Linked DNA regions of Homo sapiens: region 2 is linked to region 1. Evidence: promoter capture Hi-C in human tissues and cell types (Jung and others, 2019). All regions are on one chromosome and are shown on one strand. Each heading gives the region's core, a stretch centred on a gene start or on the middle of the fragment in contact. The rest is flanking DNA. Distances are from core to core; before and after follow the strand shown.

Region 1 (2,526 bases), core at 1-2,500:
CCCCTGTCGTCATTAGCGCTTGAGCCCAGGTGTGCAGATGAGGCGGTGGGTCTGGCCACGCTGTCCCCACCCCAAGGCTGCAGCACTTCCCGTAAACCACCTGCAGTGCCCGCCGCCTTCCCGAGGCTCTGTGCCAGCTAGTCTGGGAAGTTCCTCTCCCGCTCTAACCACAGCCCGAGGGGGGCTCCCCTCCCCCGACCTGCACCGGAGATCTCAGGCACCCGGCTCATCTCAGACCTCCCGCTCCCGACCCTACACAGAGATTGCCTGGGGAGGCTGAGGAGCCGATGCAAACCCCCAAGGCGACGCACTTGGGAGCCGGTGGTCTCAAACACCTGCCGGGGGTCCTAGTCCCCTTCTGAAATCTACATGCTTGGGTTGGAGCGCAGCAGTAAACACCCTGCCCAGTGACCTGGACTGAGGCGCGCTGGGGGTGGGTGCGCCGTGTGGCCTGAGCAGGAGCCAGACCAGGAGGCCTAGGGGTGAGAGACACATTCCCCTCGCTGCTCCCAAAGCCAGAGCCCAGGCTGGGCGCCCATGCCCAGAACCATCAAGGGATCCCTTGCGGCTTGTCAGCACTTTCCCTAATGGAAATACACCATTAATTCCTTTCCAAATGTTTTAATTGTGAGAGTATCTGATATTCTTGACTGAACAATGTAAAAAACCCAAAGGGGGCTGCGCACGGCGGCTCTCGCCTAAATCCCAGCACTTTGGGAGGCCGAGGTGGGCAGATCACCTGAGGTCGGGAGTTCGACACCAGCCTGACCAACATAGAGAAACCCCGTCTCTACTAAAAATACAAAATTAGCCGGGCGTGGTGGTTCATGCCTGTAATCCCAGCTACTCGGGAGGCTTAGGTAGGAGAATCACTTGAACCCGGGAGGCGGAGGTTGTGGTGGGCCAAGATTGTGCCACCGCACTCCAGCCTGGGTAACAAAAGCGAAACTCCATCTCAAAAAAAGAAACGCAAACGGTGCAGCTGCCCCTTTTTCGAGGCACGTCCACCTCCCATTACCCACTTCCTTTTTTTTTTGAGACTGAGTCTTGCTCTGTCCCCTGGGCTGTAGTGGAGTGGCTCCATCTCGGCTCACTGCAGCCACTCCCAACGCCCTCCACTCCTCCCTACTCCGCGCTGGCCGGGGCGGGGTTCCGCTGGTCGCATCCAATAATAAGAACAGGCGGCGCGCGCCCTTCCCGGAAACTCCCGCCTGGCCACCATAAAAGCGCCGGCCCTCCGCTTCCCCGCGAGACGAAACTTCCCGTCCCGGCGGCTCTGGCACCCAGGTACTGGGGACCCCAGACCCACGCGGTGCAGGCCGGGAGCGAGAGCCTCCGTGGGGGCTCCGTGACCCCGGAGGGGTAGAGCCAAGAGCTGGGGGAGCCTGAGAGATGAGGGTCGGGCGGGGAGGGAGGCGGAGGCGGAGGCGGGGTTCCGCGGAGCTGAGAACCGGACGGGGTGGGATCGAGGAGGGTGCGAAGCGCCACTGTTTAGGTTTCGCTTTCCCGGGAGCCTGACCCGCCCCTGACGTCGCCTTTCCCGTCTCCGCAGGGTCCGGCCTGCGCCTTCCCGCCAGGCCTGGACACTGGTTCAACACCTGTGACTTCATGTGTGCGCGCCGGCCACACCTGCAGTCACACCTGTAGCCCCCTCTGCCAAGAGATCCATACCGAGGCAGCGTCGGTGGCTACAAGCCCTCAGTCCACACCTGTGGACACCTGTGACACCTGGCCACACGACCTGTGGCCGCGGCCTGGCGTCTGCTGCGACAGGAGCCCTTACCTCCCCTGTTATAACACCTGACCGCCACCTAACTGCCCCTGCAGAAGGAGCAATGGCCTTGGCTCCTGAGAGGTAAGAGCCCGGCCCACCCTCTCCAGATGCCAGTCCCCGAGCGCCCTGCAGCCGGCCCTGACTCTCCGCGGCCGGGCACCCGCAGGGCAGCCCCACGCGTGCTGTTCGGAGAGTGGCTCCTTGGAGAGATCAGCAGCGGCTGCTATGAGGGGCTGCAGTGGCTGGACGAGGCCCGCACCTGTTTCCGCGTGCCCTGGAAGCACTTCGCGCGCAAGGACCTGAGCGAGGCCGACGCGCGCATCTTCAAGGTGGGGACCCCAGCCCCGCCCCGCCCCGGGTGGGAGAGCCCGCCTAGGACCCCGCGGGCCCGGCACACGTGTTCTGTCCCCCTCTTCAGGCCTGGGCTGTGGCCCGCGGCAGGTGGCCGCCTAGCAGCAGGGGAGGTGGCCCGCCCCCCGAGGCTGAGACTGCGGAGCGCGCCGGCTGGAAAACCAACTTCCGCTGCGCACTGCGCAGCACGCGTCGCTTCGTGATGCTGCGGGATAACTCGGGGGACCCGGCCGACCCGCACAAGGTGTACGCGCTCAGCCGGGAGCTGTGCTGGCGAGGTGAGCGACGCCGGCTGCCAAGGGCGTTGGCATTCGTCCTGCTTGGGCAAAGGGGAACATTCTCTGGGTCAGATTTGTGGTTTTAGAAGCTGTTCTGGGAGAGGCTGCCAGCAGGCCCAGGAC
Region 2 (2,815 bases), core at 183-2,682, 110 kb after region 1:
TGCCTCAGCCTCCCAAGTAGCTGGAATTACAGGTGCCCACCACCATGCCTGGCTAATTTTTGTATTTTTAGTAGAGATGGGGTTTCACCACGTTGGCCAGGCTGGTCTTGAACTCCTGACCTCAGGTGATCCACCCTTCTCGGTCTCCCAAAGTGTTGGGGTTACAGGTGTGAGCCACCACGCCCGGCCAGAACCACCTTCTTTAAAGATGATCAGGCCGGGTGTAGTGGCTTATGCCAGTAATTCCAGCGATATGGGAGGCTGAAGCAGGAGGATCACTTGAGCCCAATTCAAGACCAGGCTGGGCAACACAGGGAGACCTCTTCTCTACATAAAATACAACAATTAGCCAGGCGTGCTGGCGCCTGTGGTACCAGCTACTTGGGAGGCTGAGGCGGGAGGATCACTGGAGTCCGGGAGGTGGAGGCTGCAGCGAGCTGGGATCGCGCCACTGCAGTACAGCCTAAGCAGTGGAGTGAGACCCTGTCTCGAAAACAAATACCTAATAAAGGCAGTCAGAGGAGAGGTTTAGCAAATTGCTAAAGAACAAATCTGAGATACCGTTAGTTTCCTTACTTGCAATCTTCATCTGCCAAAATGTCAATTCTGTGAATTGCGGACTAGTCAAAAACTTAAAGAAAACCCACTTTTGTGGAGGTGGGGTCGCTTTGCGTTTCCCAGGCTGGTCTGGAACTCGGCCTGCGCCCCTCAGTGCCAGGGCTCCAGGCGACGCTCGGGTGTCGGCAGCAGAGTGGACGCAGGAGCAGCTCGGACCGCGCTCAGAACACTCGGGACGAGGCCGCGGCTCCGCAGGCCTTGCGGGCTGGGGTCCCACGAAACAAAGGCGGCAGCCAGTGGCCAGGACGGGCAGCGTGGTTCACGGGGCCGTGGCTCCCTCGGGGGTCGCGAGCTCGGCGCAAACGAGCCCCTCTACCAAGGTCGCCTAGAGTCGCGACCCCGACATGCGGAGCCGCCCCAGGGGGGTTTCTCCCGGGTCCCTCCTGTCCCGAGGCGGCCGCTTTCTCCGGGGGCCGCGCCCCGCGCCCCAGCAAGGCCCGACCCGCGCCTGCGATTCCGCCCCCAAGGCGCTGCCGCACCGGGCCCCGGCCTCTTCCTCCGAGGATTCTCAGGAATTGCTGAGACTTGCGTGCCAGTGCGAGGCCCACAACACGCACACGCGCCCGCGCCCGCCAGACCCCGCCCCCGGCACCAAGCCCCGCCTACTGGGGGAGACCACGCCCCCAAGCGAGACCTCCCTCACCGAGCCACGCCCCACCAGGCCCCGCCGCTGCGCCAAGACTGTGCTTAGCCGAGCCCCGCCCGCCGGGCCCCGCCCCGACCCCGAGACTACTCCCGCCAGGCCCCGCCCCCGCGCCGAGCCCCGCCCAGTAGTCCCCGCCCACGCACCTGACCACGCCCACGAGCCGGCTCGAACACGCCCGCGCCGCTGACTGGCGGGTGGGGTTGTCGACACGTTCAACCCGTTCTGCTGGCTCGAGAACGAAGTAGGCCGTCTCGCTCTGGGTCTCCAGGCCCGCGACCGTCCGCCAGTCGTCCCGAGGTCAGTAGCTCCAGCGGTGCGTCAGCGTCTAGCCAGGCCTCGCCCACGCCGGCCTTGGTCGGGCTTCTTGTAGACGCGGGCCTGGCGCTATTGAGGCCGTTGCTGCGCGGGCGAGTGGCGCGCTCCCGTGGCGGGGCGGGGTCGGGCGGGGCAGGGGTCCGGGGCTATCGAGGCGGGGCCGAGGTTGCGCTGGGCAGCTGCGCCGCCGGGCGGACGTGGCGCGCCTTGAGGACGTCATCGCGGTGCACGCTCCCCTTTGGGGCTTGCCGGAAGTCCTTGCCCGGGGCGCGGGGCTGCGCCTGCGTGGTTCGTCCTCACGTGGCCGTCAAGCCCTCTAGTGCCTTAGATTCCAGCGAGCTACGCAAGCAATCCTGGCCCAGCCGAGCTTGCTTCCCCAAATCCCGTAATCCTTGACCTTATTCCCCCAAAGAAGCGGCCTCCCGGGAAGGAGCGCCCTGGCGGAGAAGACTCGAACGGCTCCCACAGCCGGGCGTTGGGGGAAAGGTGGGCGGTCTTGGTCGTGCGAGGTCGGGGAGGGAGGGTCCTCCGCTCTCCATTGCGGAGCTTCGCTCCGGGACCACCGGGGGACCGGACGCCGGGCCGCGAAGCTGCCGCCTGGGGCTGCGGGGAGGAGAGCAACATAACTGGAATGGCACTTAGGGGCCGGTGTCAGGGTTGTCACCGGGGTTGGCGGAAATGACGAAGGGGCCCCAGGCACGTCGTGTTACTGGGCGAGGTTCCAGCCAAGGTGCCCACGCGCCTTGGGGGAAACCAGAGGACTTCTGCACCGTTTCCCGAGGACAGTTTGGCAGTGTTTCAGAAGGGCCTTAGAACCAGGCAGGCCCCCTTCTAGGATGGTGGAAAGCCTAAAGATCTGAAAACGGTCTCAAGTGTCGTCTTAGCGATTGGCTGACTAAACCGAATGCAAGCCGGAGACTGCACACGATGTTGCCGTTAACAGTTACACTGGGCCGGGCAGTCAGAGGCAGGCGGATCACCTGAGGTCAGGAGTTCGAGAACAGCCTGGCCAACATGGTGAAAACCCGTCTCTACTAAAAATACAAAATTAGCCGGGCGTGGTGGCAGGCGCCTATAATCCCAGCTACTTGGGAGGTTGAGGTAGGAGAATGGCTTGAACTCAGGAGGCGGAGGTTGCGGTGAGCCGAGATCGTGCCACTGCACTCCAGCCGGCTGACAAGAGCGAAACTCCTTCTCAAAAAAAAAAAAAAAAAAAAAAAGTTACATTAGGCTGGG

Evidence for each region. Contacts are between HindIII fragments. The study calls those that stand out against the background at their distance.
Region 2: the fragment with the promoter of RNH1 here is called in contact with the fragment with the promoter of IRF7 in region 1 in 1 of the 25 tissues and cell types used here (spleen).

The regions. Positions count from the first base shown.
Region 1 is chr11:614,674-617,199 of GRCh38, reverse strand. IRF7 (interferon regulatory factor 7) reads left to right here and starts at 1,250. Exons shown (of 11, transcript NM_001572.5): 1 at 1,250-1,287; 2 at 1,553-1,855; 3 at 1,941-2,103; 4 at 2,193-2,403. The coding sequence starts at 1,836. It overlaps CDHR5 (cadherin related family member 5), which reads left to right. Exons shown (of 15, transcript NM_021924.5): 15 at 1-617. RefSeq lists an enhancer at 1,794-2,388. The HindIII fragment of the contact is 18,510 bases long and covers 1-2,526 here.
Region 2 is chr11:505,859-508,673 of GRCh38, reverse strand. It overlaps RNH1 (ribonuclease/angiogenin inhibitor 1), which reads left to right and starts at 1,432. Exons shown (of 11, transcript NM_203387.3): 1 at 1,432-1,561. It also overlaps a transcript of LRRC56 not described here. RefSeq lists a cis regulatory region at 2,078 and an enhancer at 1,994-2,163. The HindIII fragment of the contact is 14,362 bases long and covers 1-2,815 here.